5 separate regions of the Homo sapiens genome follow, and regions 1, 2, 3 and 5 are each linked to region 4. Evidence: promoter capture Hi-C in 16 types of primary human blood cells and fetal thymus (Javierre and others, 2016). All regions are on one chromosome and are shown on one strand. The core of a region is centred on a gene start or on the middle of the fragment in contact, and the rest is flanking DNA. Distances in the headings are between cores, read along the strand shown. Region 1 overlaps GOLPH3L (golgi phosphoprotein 3 like). Region 2 overlaps GOLPH3L (golgi phosphoprotein 3 like). Region 3 overlaps HORMAD1 (HORMA domain containing 1). Region 4 holds the start of ECM1 (extracellular matrix protein 1). Region 5 overlaps GOLPH3L (golgi phosphoprotein 3 like).

Evidence for each region. The method cuts DNA at HindIII sites, captures the fragments that hold promoters and counts their contacts. A CHiCAGO score of 5 or more calls a contact.
Region 1: a contact is called between a fragment that was not itself captured here and the fragment with the promoter of ECM1 in region 4, in 1 of 17 cell types (neutrophils). The highest score is 5.1, in neutrophils.
Region 2: a contact is called between a fragment that was not itself captured here and the fragment with the promoter of ECM1 in region 4, in 1 of 17 cell types (neutrophils). The highest score is 7.6, in neutrophils.
Region 3: a fragment that was not itself captured here is called in contact with the fragment with the promoter of ECM1 in region 4 in 1 of 17 cell types (neutrophils); the score reaches 5.5 in neutrophils.
Region 5: a fragment that was not itself captured here is called in contact with the fragment with the promoter of ECM1 in region 4 in 1 of 17 cell types (neutrophils); the score reaches 6.6 in neutrophils.

What each region holds. Positions count from the first base shown.
Region 1 is chr1:150,649,106-150,652,814 of GRCh38, forward strand. All of the region lies in intron 4 of GOLPH3L (golgi phosphoprotein 3 like), which reads right to left. Among named protein-coding and RNA genes, the nearest start is that of ENSA, 21 kb to the left of the region's middle. The HindIII fragment of the contact is 2,275 bases long and covers 725-2,999 here.
Region 2 is chr1:150,688,229-150,691,991 of GRCh38, forward strand. All of the region lies in intron 2 of GOLPH3L (golgi phosphoprotein 3 like), which reads right to left. Among named protein-coding and RNA genes, the nearest start is that of GOLPH3L, 7.0 kb to the right of the region's middle. The HindIII fragment of the contact is 1,769 bases long and covers 985-2,753 here.
Region 3 is chr1:150,708,218-150,711,800 of GRCh38, forward strand. HORMAD1 (HORMA domain containing 1) reads right to left here. Exons shown (of 15, transcript NM_032132.5): 7 at 3,328-3,354; 8 at 677-744; 9 at 39-190. Among named protein-coding and RNA genes, the nearest start is that of HORMAD1, 11 kb to the right of the region's middle. The HindIII fragment of the contact is 3,217 bases long and covers 1-3,093 here.
Region 4 is chr1:150,505,649-150,509,449 of GRCh38, forward strand. It overlaps ECM1 (extracellular matrix protein 1), which reads left to right and starts at 2,461. Exons shown (of 10, transcript NM_004425.4): 1 at 2,461-2,631. The coding sequence starts at 2,562. It overlaps TARS2 (threonyl-tRNA synthetase 2, mitochondrial), which reads left to right. Exons shown (of 18, transcript NM_025150.5): 17 at 1-57; 18 at 1,268-1,954. The coding sequence ends at 1,416. The HindIII fragment of the contact is 8,833 bases long and covers 1-2,481 here.
Region 5 is chr1:150,668,341-150,671,835 of GRCh38, forward strand. The region is part of intron 2 of GOLPH3L (golgi phosphoprotein 3 like); the gene reads right to left. Among named protein-coding and RNA genes, the nearest start is that of GOLPH3L, 27 kb to the right of the region's middle. The HindIII fragment of the contact is 5,826 bases long and covers 1-3,495 here.

The sequences.
Region 1 (3,709 bases), core at 612-3,111, 140 kb after region 4:
AGCTAAGAGGACTGAGGTTCCCTACCCTATTTGTAGAGCAGAAGCTCTATCCCAGGCCTGGTAGGCTGACAATATTTAGACTTCAATTGCTCCCATTCCAGCTTGTTCGTAGATTAGAGATTCTGCAACAGAAAAGGCAAGTCAAGAAGACCAGGGGCTAACACCTCTTTCCCCCAGCACCTACTCATACAGCAGGTGGGTATCACTGTAGGAGAAGTGGGCCCTTGTGCAGAAGTTCTGCCCAGGAGGGAAGGAAGGCCTGAAGAATGAAGAGCTCCAAAGCTCTGCCTGAGAGGACTGACTTTATTTGGAACACAGTGTGGAGAATTCTATGCCTAAGGGTGTTGAAAACCATAGAGATCTTGGTGGAGAGCAATTACAAGGTGCTGCTAGCTCTATGGCACTGGTATGACAAACCCAAATGGCAAAGCCTCCAGAAGTTTAACAGGCAGAACCAGAGAAACAGAAAGCCAAGAAAAGTCCTTCTGGAATCATGACCAACACTGGGGGTTGGGAAGACTGTGTGCTTGCACCAGGCTGCACCCACTCAGGAGCAATCAGAGCAGGACGTGGGGCTTGACTTGAGAGTATTCCCCAGACCACACATAGATCTATCAAAAAAGGGTGGATGCTTCACTGGCACCAAGGGCTAAAGCACAACCACTGAACCAACACTGGCTGAACAATAAGCTACCCTAACTCAGAGGCAACTCCTAGAAAGCTAAGCTTAAAAATAATAATAATAGCCGGGTGTGGTGGTACACGCCTGTAGTCCCAGCTACTTGGAGGCTTAGGCAGGAAAACCCAGGAGGCGGAGGTTTCAGTCAGCTGAGATTGTACCACTGCACTCCAGCCTGAGTGACAGAGTGAGACTTCATCTCAAGAAATGAAAAATAAAAAATAAAAATAAAATTAAAAAAATCACATACATCCCTGGTGTATGTCCAAGGATGTACTCTCTCCGAGAAGAAATCAGAGAGGGAACTTCCAAGCTGCTAGTTCCTCACTGAATGTGGGGCAAAATGTAAACTCCCTGATTTGTGATGGCTATGTCAAAATCACACACACATATCCAACAGTAAAGGATAAAAAAATTTAATTGGCTAAAAGGTCTTAAGCACAACCTTTGACTAATAAGTGGCTTCTACTGACCCACTGGCAACACACAGGGAGTTAGGCCAAAAGATAAAAACAAGAAAATATGAGCAGTGACATCAGAGGCTGCACACTACAAGAGAAACAGACTTCAGAGAGCTGCTGCAGGCAAGTCACTAAGGAAACAAATTACCAAGCAAACAACACAATCAACCTCTAGTGGGAAGGAGAAACCAGTATAGCAGGTGTCCCCAACCCCTGGACCATGGACTGGTACTGGTCTGCAGCCTGTTAGGAACCCGGCTGCACAGCAGGAGGTGAGCCATGGGTGAGTAAAGTTGAGCTCTGCCTCCCATCAGATCAGCAGTGGCATTAGGTTCCCACAGGAGTGTGAACCCTATTGTGAACTGCACATGGGAGGGATCTAGGTTGCATGTTCCTTGTGAGACTCTAATAAATGCAATGCACTTGAATCATACCGAAACCATCCCCCCGTCTCCCACCCCAGTGGAAAAACTGTCTTCCACGAAACCTGTCCTGGTGCCAGAAAAGTTGGGGACAGCTGCAGTGTAGTATCCAGAGTTGCACAATTATCTAAAATGTCCAGTTTTTGACAAAAAAGTATGAAGTATACAAAGAATAAATTGTGACCCATTGACCCATTCAGAAGAAAAAAAGCAGGCAATGGAAACTGCCTTTGAGAACGCTAAAATGTTGGACTTTACAAAGACTATAAAGCAGCTTTTATAAATATGTTCAAAGACCTAAGGGAAACCATGACTTATCATATAGAGAATATAAATAAAGACAGAAATTATAAAAAAGATCCATTTAGACCAGGTGCGGTGGCTCACGCCTGTAATCCCAGCATTTTGAGAGGCTGAGGTGGGTGGATCATTTGAGGCCAGGAGTTCAAGACAAGCCTGGCCAACATGGCGAAACGCCATCTCTACTAAAAATACAAAAATTAGCCAGGTATGGTGGGCACCTGTAATCCCAGCTGCTCAGGAGGCTGAGGCAGAGAATCGCTTGAACCTGGGAGGTGGAGGCTGCAATGAGCTGAGATAGTGCCACTGCACTCCAGCCTGGGCAACAAAGCAAGACTCCATCTCAAAAAAACAAAAACAAAAAAACCATTTAGAAATCCTAGAGTTTAAAAGTACAACAGACTGGGCATGGTGGCTCACGTCTGTAATCCCAGCACTTTGGGAGGCTGAGGCAGGCGGATTACTTGAAGCCAGGAGTTTGAGACCAGCCTGGCCAATATGGTGAAACCCTGTCTCTACTAAAAATACAAAATTAGCCGGGTATGGTGGTGTGTGCCTGTAGTTCCAGCTACTCAGGAGGCTGAGGCAGGAGAATCACTTGAACCCAGGAGGCGGAGGTTGCAATGAGCCAAGATCACACCATTACACTCCAGCCTCAGCGACAGAGCGAAACTCAAAAAAAAAAAAAAAAAAAAAAGTACAACAAACAAAATGAAAAAATCACTCAAGGGATCCAACAAGAGATCTGAGCTGGCAAAATAAAGAATTAGCAAACTTAGAGATCAAAGAAATTATGTAATATGAAGAACAAGGAGAAAAGAGAATGAAGAAAAATGAACAGACTCAGAGAAATATAAAGTATCATCAACTTGATGAACATACATAAAATGGAAGCACCAGAAGGAAAGGAGAGAAAGAGGCAGAAAAAATACTCAAGAAAGTAATGGCTAAAATCTTGCCAAACGTGATGAAAAACACTCAACCACACATTGGAGAAGTTCAACAAACTCCAAGTTGGATGAACACAAAGAGACCCATATCCAACATCATAGTAAAAATGTTGAAAACCAAAAATAAGTGGAAAATCATGAAAGCAGAAGAGAAAAATGACTTATCACATCACAGTGGAACTTTGTAAGCTTAATAACTGACTTCCCATTAGAAAAAATGCAGGCCAGAAGAATGAGTAGACTTATTCAAAGTGAGGGTAGAAACTATTAGCCAAGAATCTTATAACTGGCAAACTATCTTTCAGAAATAAAAGCAAAGCAGGTGTGGTGGCATGCACTTGTAGTCCCAGCTACTCAGGAGGCTGAGGCAGGAGAATCACTTGAACCCAGGAAGTGGAGGTTGCATTGAGCTGAGATCGTGCCACCGCACTCCAGACTGGGTGACAGAGTGAGACTCTGTCTCAAAAAAAAAAAAAAAAAAAAAAAAAAAACCCTAAAAAAAACAAAACAAAAATGAAGGCAAAGAAAAATTTCTAAAAAGGAGAAAAAATAAATACATTCCTAGATCTGAAAGAGTTCACTGCTAGCAGACCTGCTTATAAGAAATATTAATACTAAAACTAAAGGGAAGTTGTTAAGGCTGAGAGCAGGACACACTAGACAGTAATTTGAATCCACGTGAACAAACAGTAAAAGTAATTATGTAAGTAATAAAAAAGATGGTATAATTGGATACTTCATCTCAACTGATTTATAAAGCAATTGCACAAAACAATATTTATATAATTGTTATTGTTGAGTTATAATTTTTAACTTTTTAAACTTTTGCGCAAGGTTATAACACATAGAAATGTAATAATAGCACAAAGAAAGAGGGTGGGAAAAAAGTTGTGTTGA
Region 2 (3,763 bases), core at 619-3,118, 180 kb after region 4:
TATTTCACAATTTTAGAAAACTTAAACAATAAAGCATGTAACTGGATGTTCAGCTCTCATACTTCAGTTTTAAAACACTGGAGTTCATTAAAAGGAGATGGGATGCTTTCAGACATCTGTGGTTATTCCAGTTGCACATCACTGAAATTATTAGGAACATCCAGTTGATGTTCTTTTTTCCTAGAACCTGTCTCTTTACAGACTAACTCACTCTTATTCCAGTTAAGAGTTATTACCTCCTGGCGGGGCGCAGTGGCTCACACCTGTAATCCCAGCACTTTGGGAGGCCAAGGCAGTTGGATCACCTGAGGTCAGGAATTCAAGACCAGCCTGGCCAACATGGTGAAACCCCGTCTCTACAAAAATACAAAAATTAGCCGGGGATGGTGGCAGGTGCATGTAATACCAGCTACTTGGGAGGCTGAGGAAGCAGAATCGCTTGAATCCGGGAGGTGGAGGTTGCAGTGAGCCAAGATCACGCCACTGCTTTGCAGCCTGGGTGACAGAATGAGATTCTATCTCAAACAAACAAACAACAAAAAAAAGAGTTATCACCTCCTGTAAGTCTTTCCCAACATCTCTTCTTCCCTCTCCTACTGCTCCTTCCCACCACCCATCTGATTTACGTGCTTTTCCTCTGTGTTTCCTTCCTACTCAGAACACACTTATACACATATCACATTGTTCTGAAATGGTCTGCTGACTTTCTGGCTTCTACTCCCAGCATCTCCAACCATCCCTATGCCACTAAACCATAAATTGACCTCAAAAGCAGGGACAATTGTTTTTGTTCTCTCTTTCTATGACATATGAGTCATTCAATAAAATTTTTGGTGATTAAACAAATAAGTGAAAATGTATTGCCATATTTCCAATGGATAATACTTCTTGCCAATTTTTACCACAGTGACATGAGAAATATGATGAAAAGCTTTTCTTTCACAGTAAGTAGTAAGTATTCAATAAATGGCATTACTAGGAGAAAGCTTTCCAAGAAAGAGAGGATGGTTGAAAAACATTATCCACAAATTAAATAGATGAGAAATGAAAAGACCACTAGGAGTCAAAAGCAGTAATTGGCTTACTCCCCTTACAGGTAACTTAAGAAACGATTCTAATAAATGAAAAGTTTTATACATTAGCAAGTCAATTAAAACACTGTTCATGAGTTAATAATCTATATCAAAACTCTTACCAAAGGCAATAATAACAAATAAGCAGATTCCTGATTTCAACAGGAGATAAACCTATTTTATTTTGGTCAGGCTTGTGCTCAATGTTTACTTTCTCAGTTGAGGTCAGTGTTATTGAACTGAGATAGTATCTAATTTTAACTGTGCTTGAAAGGTTATACTCTTCAAATTATATTTAAATTTCTTGATTGTTTTCATAAGACAATGATACTTAATATTTAATTTAATTAGTTTATATTTTTTGAGGCAGTCTTACTCTGTCACCCAGGCTAGAGTGCAGTAGTGTGACCTTGGCTCATTGCAGCCTCTGCCTCTTGGGTTCAAGAGATTCTCCCATCAGCATAGCTAGGATTACAGGTGCATGCCACCACACCCAGCTAATTTTTTTTTTCCTTTAGTAGAGATGGGGTTTCACCATGTTGGCCAGGCTGGTCTCGAACTCCTGGCCTCAAGTGATTTGCCCGCCTCAAACCTCCCAAAGTGCTGGGATTATAGATGTGAGCCACTGCGTCTGGCCAGATGCTTAATATTTTAAAACCAGTCTGTGGTAGTTACCCCTCAGAAGAATTTTTTTTTTTCTTTTAAGACAGGGTCTCACTCTGTCACCCAGGTTGGAGTACAGTGGCACAAACACAGCTCACTCCAGCCTTGAACTCCTGGGCTCAAGCAATCCTCTCGCCTCAATCTCCCAAGTAGCTGAAACTGCAGGTATGTGACACCATGCCAGGCTAATTTTTATATTTTTTGTAGAGATGAGGTCTCACTATGTTGCCCAGGTTGGTCTAGAATTCCTGGCCTCAGGCAATCCTTCTGTCTCCCAAAGTGCTGGGATTACAGACAGGAGCCACCGTGCCTGCTTGAAAGACACATAGTTTCTAAAAAAATGATAATACTGGGTTCTAAACAGAGGATCTTAGGGAACTCTCCAGTAAAAGTTTGGGAGTTTGGGACACAAAATTTAACATTTAGGATTTTTTCCTTTTTTGACTTGTCACAAATCCCAAACCATGTAAAAACAAGCAATTATATACACATTAAAACATACTCACAAAGAACATAAAAATGTTATTAAGCCCTTAATTTGGACACAAAAATGAAATGGGCTTTGCTGTTTTCATTAGGCTGATTCTCTTTTCCCTAAAGGAAAGAGTCTAAAAGTCTCTGCCTGGTAACAAAATCTATAATCTGGTCCAAATCGAATTTACTGATTTTGAATCCCATTGTTCTCCACCTACTTCAGTCATACTGGCCTACTCACAGTTATCTCCCAAACTCATCAAGCTCATGATACCTTTGCTCACTCAGGTTCCCTCATCCAGAACGTGTTTCCTTTTCTCCATTCATGTTAATCCTCCCATTTTTAAAGGCATGGCTTGTTTTACTGCCTTTTTCTATTCTTCCCCGGATTACTCTATCTCATGATGGTTTCTCCTCTCTCTAACTCCCTTGGCTCATTCTAACATGCAAAAACTTGCTTTTTATTGTTGTTTACTTTAAAAAAAATATTTTGCATTGTGAAATATAATGTACACACAGAAGAATAAACAAAACAAAGTAAAAAGCTTAATTATTCCAAAGTGAAGATCTATGGCCCAGGTGCAGTGGCTCACGCTTGTAATCCCAGCACTTTGGGAGGCCAAGGCAGGTGGATCACTTGAGATCAGGAGTTCAAGACTAGCCTGGCTAACATGCTGAAAACCCTTCCCTACTAAGAATACAAAAATTAGCCAGGAGGGACAGAGCAAGACTCCGTATCAAAAATAAATAAATAAATAAAAAAGGCCGGGAGCAGTAGTTTACGCCTGTAATCCCAGCACTTTGGGAGGCCACACCTATAATCCCAGCACTTTGGGAGGCCAAGTTGGGTGGGTCGCCTGAGAGGTCAGGAGTTCAAGACCAGCCTGACCAATATGGTGAAACCCCATCTCTACTAAAAATACAAAAATTAGCCAGGCATGGTGGCGGGTGCCTGTAATCCCAGCTACTCAGGAGATTGAGACAGGAGAATTGCTTGAACTCGGGAGGCGCAGGTTGCAGTGAGCCAAGATGGTGCCACTATACTCCAACCTGGGTGACAGAGCAAGACTCTGTCTTAAAAACAAAAACAAAAACAAAAACAAAACTATGAAACTTCCTCTAGGTCCAGAAACAGAAAATTGTTACTATCTAGAAATCCTCTCCATTTTCCTTCCTAATTACTAACACCCTTTTCCTTCCCCTATCCCTTACAAAAAGATAATCACTATTCTAAAAACTATAGTAATTCCTGGCTTGATTTTGTTTATAATTGTACCACCTAAATATGCAACCTCAAATACAATAGTTTTTTGAGTTTCATATAAATGGAATCATACAGTATGTATATTTTTGTGTTTGGCTTTTTTTATTGAACATAATGTGAGAAATATACATGTTGTATAACAATGTTCATTTTCATTCTGTATAGAAAACATATTTATACTCATTTAAACAAATGGATGACTCTTTTTTTTTTTTGATGATTCATTTTTATCCATTCTGCTGTTGATGGACCTTCGGGTTACTTAACTTTTAAAAAGTATGTATCTTTT
Region 3 (3,583 bases), core at 235-2,734, 200 kb after region 4:
TATGTACCAACTGAAACAGGATGTATTGCAAATAGTACCTTCATCATAGTAAAAAAGTTTCATGGTCAAACAAACATCATTAGGTAAAGGCCCCAGATTTTGCATTAGGATATAAATCTTGCGAATGAGGAGAATGCTTGCTTTCTTGGTGTCAGTAGACAACATGCTAGATTCGTTGCTTTGGTTTTTACTAGAAGAGAATCACATATTAATTTATTTTATAAAACCTGTGGCTTCTAATATCATAACTTTACATTTTAACTATTTGAGATTCTTATTTCTATTATAGCATTAAGCTGTTAACTTGAAAGTTACCATGTGTTTTAATGTCACTATTATAAAATTTTAATATTAATATCTGCTAGAAATAATAACTTAATTTTACTTAAGTGCATTTTATATGAAGTGTTTAAAGAAAGCACATTATGTTTTAAAATTATATTTCTATATTTCTAATCACCTAAGTTCTCTTTCCACAATTAAAATTGCTTATTATTAGCCACAGAATCCTGGCTTGAAGCTACTGCAAGCCACCACTCCATTTTGCATAGCCACATCTTGATGGTTAATTGGGGATGTCCCCGCAGTTTCAGAATGAATCCTGAGGTTTAGCTATATAGCATTAATATGAATAAGTGGTAATCTGTAATACAAACAGAAAACTATAGAACAATACCTTATGAAGTCCATGAGTGGTCCATTATTGGTGTATTTGAATTTGAATTGGTAACATTCTGAAATTGTCTTAAATAGAAAATATCGCAGTTATGCTTCTGATATTCAGTACTAGCTGCTAAATAGCTATATTCTGTTTTGTATGACTCAACATTTAGTCAATACTTTTTTCTGCCATATTAATCCCTATTGATCCATTGAAACTTTTGATTCCTCATAGTCAGTTTTCATGGTTTGGGTTTGGGGCTTCAGTCTTGGAGAGACATTTATTTCCCAACTCATTGTAATGTATGTTATTGTAGGGAAAAGAGAGATCAGACTGTTACTGTGTCTATGTAGAAAGGGAAGACATAAGAGACTCCATTTTGAAAAAGACTTGTACTTTAAATAATTGCTTTGCTGAGATGTTGTTAATTTGTAGCTTTGCCCCAGCCACTTTGACCCAACCACTTTGATCCAATCTGGAGCTCACAGAAACATATGTTGTATGAAATCAAGGTTTAAGGGATCTAGGGCTGTGCAGGACGTGCCTTGTTAACAAAATGTTTACAAGCAGTATACTTAGTAAAAGTCATCGCCATTCTCTAGTCTCAATAAACCAGGGGCACAATGCATTGCGGAAAGCCGCAGGGACCTCTGCCCTTGAAAGCGGGGTATTGTCCAAGGTTTCTCCCCATGTGATAGTCTGAAATATGGCCTTGTGGGATGAGAAAGACCTGACCGTCCCCCAGCCCGACACCCATAAAAGGTCTGTGCTGAGGTGGATTAGTAAAAGAGGAAAGCCTCTTGCAGTTGAGATAGAGGAAGGCCACTGTCTCCTGCCTGCCCCTGGGAACTGAATGTCTCGGTATAAAACCCGATTGTACATTTGTTCAATTCTGAGATAGGACAAAAACCGCCCTATGGTGGGAGGCGAGACATGTTTGCAGCAATGCTGCCTTGTTATTCTTTACTCCACTGAGATGTTTGGGTGGTGAGAAACAAATCTGGCTTACGTGTACGTCCAGTCATAGTACCTTCCCTTGAACTTAATTATGACATAGATTCTATTGCTCACATGTTTGTTGCTGACCTTCTCCTTATTATCACCCTGCCCTCCTACTACATTCCTTTTTACTAAAATAATGAAGATAATAATCAATAAAAACTGAGGGAACTCAGAGACCGGCGCCGGTGCAGGTCCTTGGTATGCTGAGCGCCGGTCCCCTGGGCCTACTATTGTTTCTCTATACTTTGTCTCTGTGTCTTATTTCTTTTCTCAGTCTCTCGTCCCACCCGACTAGAAATACCCACAGGTGTGGAGGGGCAGGCCACCCCTTCAGTTATTTATACCACATGGAAGGAACTCCTTAGCAGGCAGATAAGGGAGGCAACATACCTCAGCAGAGTGGCTAACACAGGGCATAAATCTTTGCTATACTGTAACCACAGGCAAGCCACTTAAGCCTTAGTTTAAGTATTAGTTTCCCCAGCTAAAAAAGAGATTAAAGACAGTACATATCTCATTGATAGTTGTGAATAAATATTCACAAATGGGATAATTTATACAGGGTACTTTATAAAGTACCTGACATATAGTAAACATTCAATAAATATTATTATTGTATCAACAAGGTTGCTAATTTACTGATAGAAAAAATGCACAACTATATAACATATGAAAATAAATGAACATTTTCTGAACAATCAATTAGTTTTCTGAACACAATCTATTAATTCACAGCCTTTACCCAAATGATCTGCTTTGTCAGCATGGATACATATTAAGCATTAATCGCAGGTGTGAGTATCAAAGAAAAGACACATTCTCAGCCCTCCTGAAGCCTGAATACTTCTATTGCTTTCTTTATATTTCATTGCTTACATAGTGATGTTTTTAAACGTCTATTTTTAACACCAGTTTAAATCTACCTCTCCTTGACTGAATGAAACGTTATATTGTAACAGCTATAGCGTAATGGGTAAACACCCAAATTGTGAACTGGCCTTCCTAGGTTCAAAAACCTGGTTCTGCCACTTCAGCCACTATGACCTTAGGCAAGAAACCCCTTGTACTTAGATTTCCTCATCTGTAAAGCGGAGATGCTAATAGTGGTTACCTCATGAAGGTTGGGATGAATAAATGAGATAATGCACATAAAGCCCCAAAGAACAGAGCCTAATATAAAGTAAGCACTCAGTAGATCTTTCCCCCTTGTTTCTTATCTTCTGGTTTTCCCTTTCACGTTCTCCCTTCTCTCCTTTAATGGTAAGATAAATAGGTAGCTATGAATGGATTGGGATGAATATTCGAAGTTTAAGGATGACTTTCTTACTTTCCTAAAACTCAAGCCCTTTCATAATTCTAAAATGTAGTATAAAAAATACTATAAAGAATTAGACGTCAGGAGATTTAAGTTAAGTTTCTAACAGTTTGTAAGCTTTGTGGCCTAAGATCAGTCACATAATCTCTGTCATGCTAATCTGTTTAAAGGTAACAATCCAAGCCCTGCCTTACCTCAGAAGAGTTTTATGAAGCTCAAATGTGAAAATATATATGAAAGTATATTGATTAAAGCATAATTAAAAGCATAAGATATTCTTATATTATGTTTCGTGTTATTTTTAGATATTAGAGGCATTATGTTTCTTTAGTAACTCAAGCACACTTACCTGAGGATCTTCTGGGTTTGTGTATACCTATTTAAAAACAATTTACAATTGAGTTATCTAAGGCTAAGTATTCAAGAACTAAATTAGATGTTTAGACTAAACTTCATGTGAACTCAGCAAAACAAACAAATAAAAATGACCACCCAAAATATTACTTTTTCATTCCATTGAATAGATCAGTTATTTGAATAATGTGACATAATCAATTGATAGTTTTAGTGTCATTTAATTAAGCAAGGCCAAATTTGGCAGTATT
Region 4 (3,801 bases), core at 1,211-3,710:
TGACCCTCAGCCGGAGAATCCGCCGGGCCCAGCTTGCCCACTACAATTTTCAGTTTGGTAAGCTGAACCTCAGAGCCAATGTTCTCCCACCTGCCGTCTGCATTCTTGCTGTTAAGTTTACCAAGTCTGGTAATGCATATTTGGGTTAATTGGGGCTCATTACCTGAGCAGGTAGGAGCCAGGATTCAGGACACCTGACTCATTTGGGCCCTGTGTTCCTTCACATTGCCCTGCCCTCCCCATAACCACTTCTGACACTCAAAATAGTTTTCCTCTTTTTAACTCCACTCTAGCTGTTGGTGTCTGTTAGGTTAATTAACCAAGGGAGCATCAGAGAGAAAGGGACGGGAGGGTTAATACAGCGTTAATTACCCTTGTTTATTTTAGACCTAGATGGAATCAGCCCTAAGGGATGAGGAGAAAGGCCTTAGGGAGAAAATTCTGGCACTGCCATGCTCCCTTTTTCATTTTCCAGGGTTCAGGGCTCTATCTCAAAGGTGAGGAGCAGAAACTCCTCAGCCAGATTACCTGATTCTTGAGTTTTGCACACCCCACTCTCCCTACAAGCACCCAGAGCAAGCTGTGCTGCAATCCCAGGGACTTGTACATGGCCCCTTTCCCTCCCTTACCGCCCAGTCAGCCCCTGCATACATCCTCCTCAGCAGAGGCCCCTCACTCTGTGAATCCAGCCCTAACAGACACCAAGAGCCAGAGTGGGACTGATGAGAGGAAACTGTTCTAAGGGTCAGAGTGGTTGGGGGGAGGCGGGGCAGTGTGAAGGCCACACCACTCCTGCCACCTTCCACTTGCTCTAATACCCCCTTCAGACACGCGCGCGCACACACACACACACACACACACACACACAGTTTCTCTCTGTGGGGTTCTCATTGTTTGTCTTTCTCTGCTTGACTCTAATGTCTCTGACACACACACACACACACACACACACACACACAGTTTCTCTCTGTGGGGTTCTCAGTGTTTGTCTTTCTCTGCTTGACTCTTATGTCTCTGACCCTGGGGCTCTTGACCAGAAGCGATAAGGCCTGCGGGGACTGAAGCACTTCCTTGTCTCCTCAGGATGAGCAGGACTGGTCATTTAGTATTAGCAGACACAGCTGAATACTTCCTTTCTGTGAACCATATCTGGGCTCTGCTCCCACCCTTCCTAAAGATTTAGGTCTCTCAAGTTTCTGCAGAGCAAAAGAAACTGTTCCATGTGGGTGAATTTGCCCTGAGGTTCCCAAACTTCCTCTACCTGCAGTGGTTGGCCAGAAAGAGCAAAGTAAGAGAACAGTGAACATTCGGACTCGAGATAATCGTCGCCTTGGGGAGTGGGACTTGCCTGAGGCTGTGCAGCGACTGGTGGAGCTACAGAACACGAGGGTCCCAAATGCCGAAGAAATTTTCTGAGCCTTTGTACATAGATGAGGCAAAAACCTGCGAGTGCCATCAGCCTCCCTCACATGGGAGACCCCAACCCAGCTGACAATGTGGAGCCCCCAGAACTTCAGAACTGTGTGGAGGCACATGTCTGCTCTCCTGAAAAGAGACTTGGTTTGGGGACCCCACAAAAGGAGGGAAGCTGTAGCTGTTTGGATGTGAGGAGAATGAAACTACAAAAAAAAATAAATTGGGCCAGGCGCAGTGGCTCATGCCTGTAATCCCAGCACTCTGGGAGGCTGAGGCGGACGGATCATGAGGTCAGGAGATCAAGACCACCCTGGCTAACACGGTGAAACCCTGTCTCTACTAAAAATACAAAAAATTAGCCGGGCATGGTGGCACACGCCTGTAATCCCAGCTACTCAGGAGGCTGAGGCAGGAGAATCGCTTGAACCCGGGAGGTAGAGGTTGCAGTGAGCTGAGATTGCGCCACTGCACCCCCCTAGGCGACAGAGCGAGACTCTGTCTCTAAATAAATAAATAAATAAATAAATACAAACTGGAAGCTGCTGGTCATATGTCTTCATCTCTGACTCTGGAGAGGTGGGATAAAAGGATGTTCCACTTTGTCTCCCTCTTTTTTGTCCCAGAGAGTTAGGGAAATTGAAAAGGGACAGTCCAGACCTCACACTGGTAGGGGAGATCCCTTGGATAGGTTTCCTGCTCCCCGCTGTAAACTCCTTTGTGCCCTGTTTCCCCAACCCCAGTTCATGAGTTGGCAGATCCCCTCTCCACAGAAGGCAGCCTGTAGATGGAGAAACTGAGGCACAAACTAGGGGCTCAAACACCTCTTGCTCCTGGATTCTCTGAATCAGTTTCTCTTGAAGGTCATAAGAATGTTCTCCTCTAATCAGTCCCATTCTTCTCAATCCTCTGAGGAGGCTTCAGGGTGACTTTGGGAGGAGTGGCTTCCAGAGGAGGAGCAGCTGGGACTGAGTCATGGCAGGAAGCTGAGGAGGGCGGGAGATCACACCAGACAATTATAAAAGAAGAGCTGGTCCTGAAGCTCACAACCGTAACAGCCACCAGACAAGCTTCAGTGGCCGGCCCTTCACATCCAGACTTGCCTGAGAGGACCCACCTCTGAGTGTCCAGTGGTCAGTTGCCCCAGGATGGGGACCACAGCCAGAGCAGCCTTGGTCTTGACCTATTTGGCTGTTGCTTCTGCTGCCTCTGAGGGAGGTGAGTTGGGGGATCAGCACTTAGGAGGGGGTCTGGGCTTGCATGGCAGGGGTCTGGGTCCAGGCATCCCAGACGGCTCATCACTAGCAGAGTGATTCTCCGTTTGGCTTTCCTTTTCTGAGCAGGCCCAAAGTGGGCCTAGGCCAGTGGAGCCTTTAACCAAGGAGGCAGAGAGCAGGGGCACAGAAGGAGAGGGGTTCCTAGAAACTGCTGCCAAGAAACACAGAATCCCAGTCAAATAGACAACTGAGTGGGGGGTGGGTTCACAGAGTGAGGGTCTCCTGCTGATGAGGATGTAGGGAGGTGGCTGGTGGGAGAGGCAAGGGAGGGAAAAGGGGCCCCCAGGCTGCTCAAAACCGGATTGCTGGCCCAGCAAGCCTCGACTGACTCCCTGTCTGATTAGAGGAGTTGAGGGGTGTCCATCCACAGACCCACCCTCCATCCAGCACAAACACATTCTTTATCTGCTTTGATGCCTGAACAAAACAGGAACCCCTCAATGCTATGGGTGGAAACTAAGAAAAAAAGGAAAAGAAAAGGAAAAAAACCACCCAGGGCACTCCTGCAGGAAGCTGCTGAGGATGTCAGCAAATCTGTCCACTTCTCTGTGAAGCCCCATGCCATCATTCTTCCCAGCTCCTGGTCTTTTGTGTCTGCAGATCACCTACAAGTGACCCTTCCCTGTGCCTGTCCCAGTCCCCCAGGCCCTAAATTGAGACCTAAACTAAGGCGGAGCTGAGACTGGCTGAAGGGGAAGCACTCAACCTTCAGGAAGCCTCCTTAACCAAAGGCCTAAAGATGTTTCAAGGGCCTGGAGTAGGAGGGTGGGTGGAGGAGGTGGATTGGGTAGGCTCCAACCAGCTCAAGGTCCAGACTTTTTCCTCTGAAAGCTAGAGACGCATCCCAGCAGAGACTGGGGAGGACAACCCACAGCCCTGAGGGAAAGACTGGCAGAGGAAATGAGGGCCTCCCTCCCCAATCCCGTATGCCATACTCCCTTTAGGCCCAACCTCTGAGCCAGTAGAGGTGGAGCTATCAGACCGCCACAGGCTTTCTCAGAACCCAGCTGGTCATGTCTAGGTGTGTTGGGGCTGGGAGAGGATTAGGGGACACGGGGCAGGTGAATACAGAGGGGCATCTCGTGTCTTGCTTGTCTGTCCTACACTCTTG
Region 5 (3,495 bases), core at 609-3,108, 160 kb after region 4:
CCCTGCCTGCCTCATGGCTACTCCAAGTCATATTTGTTTTTTTGGTTTTGTTTTTGTTTGGACACAGGGTATCGCTCTGTCGCCCAGGCTGGGGTGCAGTGGCATGATCTCATCTCACTGCAACCTCCACCTCCCTGGTTCAAGCAATCCTCTCACCTCAGCCTCCCAAGTAGTTGGGACTACAGGCGCGTGCCACCACACCCAGCTAATATTTGTATTTTTAGTAGAGATGGGGTTTTGCCATGTTGCCCAGGCTGGTCTCGAACTCCTCAGCTCAAGTGGTATGCCCACCTCAGCCTCCTGAAGTACTAAAATTACAGGTGTGAGCCACTGTGCCTGGCCCCAACTCATATTTGTGACTCCTCTTTAAGGAAGGGGTAGGCTTTTTTTTTAGGTTAACACTTGTTTTTTTTTATAGTTTAGCTACCTAATTAAAGTTAAACTATAACTTCCTTCAGAACACGTAATTATGTAGGCATTATTTATTCTCGTAATAAATCTTAACAGGTGTGCAAACATTTTAGCCAATATTAAAGCAACTGGAAGAAAGTTTTCTTTTGTTGTCTCATTTCCTCCTGACCATGTAACTTCTGTTTCAGTGACAGTGACATCAGATTGTCAACAAAACTATAAATGAGAAGCAGTATAAAGAAATGATGAAGATCAGGATAAAGAAACTACATTTTTGAATGTCACACTTTCCTATTGTAGCATCTCAAAACATACAAAACTTTCCAAACGAGTTTTTAACTTTTTTATTAAGAATATGCAATAATAGACAAAAGTATAAAAACATATATGTAGAGTTTTAAGAAAATAATTATAAAACAAACACCTGTATAACTACAAGAAAGAGACTGGATTTAGAAAAAGAAAATAACTGAGAAAAGAGAGAACATGATAGTAAATGTTCCCCTGTACTGTGGGTACATATGACCAATAAAGATTATAATATTGTCATCTATAGTAATATTTAGAACAGATTGAAACAAATTTAGGTGCAGAATAGCCTGGAGGTAAGGGAAAATACAATTATTTATATTTAAAGGTCATTTTCCTCTTAGTGTATCTATCTAACTTAGTGAATTCTCCAGCCATTCATAATAAAGATTCTATATTAAATGGCCAATGCTTTGGTATGTCTGAGCAGGAAGACCTAGCACGTACATACTAAAGTTCACCATTTGATCATTAAATCTCATTACCAAAGGCTATCTAAAGAAAATTTTAGGACCTACCCAACACAGATGGAATTGCACATTGTCTCATGGCTAATGGAGAATCTCAGAGAATTTGCAGAATAAGATATTCAGATAGTGGACTTTAATATACATCTGTAGGCCGGGCGCGGTGGCTCACACCTGTAATCCCTGCACTTTGGGAGGTCAAGGCGGGTGGATCACCTGAGGTTAGGAGTTCGAGACCAGCCTGGCCAACATGATGAAACCCTGTCTCTACTAAAAATACAAAAATTAGCTGGGTGTGGTGGCACGTGCCTGTAATCCCAGCTACTCAGGAGGCTGAGGCAGGATAATCACTTGAACCTGGGAGGTGGAGGTTGCAGTTAGCTGAGATCACACCACTGCACTCCATCCTGGGCAACAAGAGCAAAACTCCGTCTCAAAAAAAAAAACTGCAGGCCCGGCGTGGTCGCTCAGGACTGTAATCCCAGCATTTTGGGAGGCTGACGTGGGTGGATAGCCTGAGGTCAGCAGTTCAAGACCAGCCTGGCCAACATGGTGAAACCCCGTTTCTACTAAAAAATATAAAAATTGGCCAGGTGTGGTGGTAGACGCCTGTAATCCCAGCCACTCAGGAAGCTGAGGCAGAAGAATTGCTTGAACCCCAGAGGTGGAGGTTGCAGTGAGCTGAGATCTCACCACTGCACTCCAGCCTGGGCGACAAGATTGAAACTCCATCTCAAAAAAAATTGTAAAAAAGAAAGAAAAATCCCATTATAGAAATGTATACTTTAGGCTGGGTGTGGTGGCTCACGCCTGTAATCCCAGCACTTTGGGAGGCTGAGGCGAGTGGATCATGAGGTCAGGAGATCGAGACCATCCTGGCTAACACGGTGAAACCCCGTCTCTACTAAAAATACAAAAAATTAGCCGGGCGTGGTGGCGGGTGCCTGTAGTCCCAGCTACTTGGGAGGCTGAGGCAGGAGAATGGCATGAACCCAGGAGGCGGAGCTTGCAGTGAGCCGAGATTGTGCCACTGCACTCCAGCCTGGGCTACAGAGCAAGACTCTGTCTCAAAAAATAAATAAATAAATAAAAAGAAATGTAGACTTTAGAAAGTGAAAGTGTTCTAGAATCTTATCCCCTCTAGAGGATCACTACCAACAGTTTAATGGGTACTTTTCTAGATTTTTATATACATATTCTATGTTTACACTTATTAATATTATTTCTAGAAATGGCATTACACTGAGTGGTAACTTTTTTCATTAACCCATTATTCTGGGTATCATTCCACATCAGTAAATATACTTCTTCATCCCTTGTAATGACTGCATAGTATTGCATTTTACATGCATTATAATTTTATCTATCCAAGCCCCTTACTGATGTGCATTTAGGTTGCTTACAGTATTTTGTTATTATTAAAAAATGTTGGCTGGGTGTGGTGGCTCAAGCCTGTAATCCCAGCACTTTGGGAGGCCATGGTGGGTGGATCACCTGAGGTCAGGAGTTTGAGACCAGCCTGGCCAACATGGTGAAACCCAGTCTCCACTAAAAATACAAAAAAATTAGCCGGGCATGGTGGCCCGTGCCTGTAATCCCAGCTACTCAGGAGGGTGAGGCAGGAGAATCCTATGAATCCAGGAGGCAGAGGCTGCAGGGAGGTGAGTTCGTGCCACTGCACTCCAGCCTGGGCGGCAGAGTAAGACTCCATCTCAAGAAAAAAAAAAAAAAGTAAAGACGTATTCATTTGTGTGTGTATTTCTGTTGAATATCTAGAAGAAAATTCTGGGTCAAATATTACACATATTTAAACTTTAAAGATTGCACAATGGGAATTCAATAAATTCAGACAGTCAACACTTTATGCTGAATTTCCACTTAGTCAAGTATTCAAAGTGCCCTTCCTTATTCAAACTTCCTTGAAGACACACCTTAAAACAACTCTGAAGGTTAAAGATCTTAAAAGTTGCCTGCTTGGCAAAAAAAGAGGAAAGAAGGGCCGGGCGCGGTGGCTCACGCCTGTAATCCCAGCACTTTGGGAGGCCAAGGCGGGCGGATCACCTAAGGTCAGAGTTTGAGACCAGCCTGGCCAACATGGTGAAACACTGTCTCTACTAAAAATACAAAATTAGCCGGGTGTGGTGCCGCATGCCTGTAATCCCAGCTATTCGGGAGGCTGAGACAAGGAGAATCGCTTGAACCTGGGAGGCGGAGGTTGCAGTGAGCCGAGATCGCACCACTGCACTCCAACCTGGACAACGAGAGCAAAACTCCGTCTCAAAAAAAAAAAAAAAAAAAAAAGAGGAAA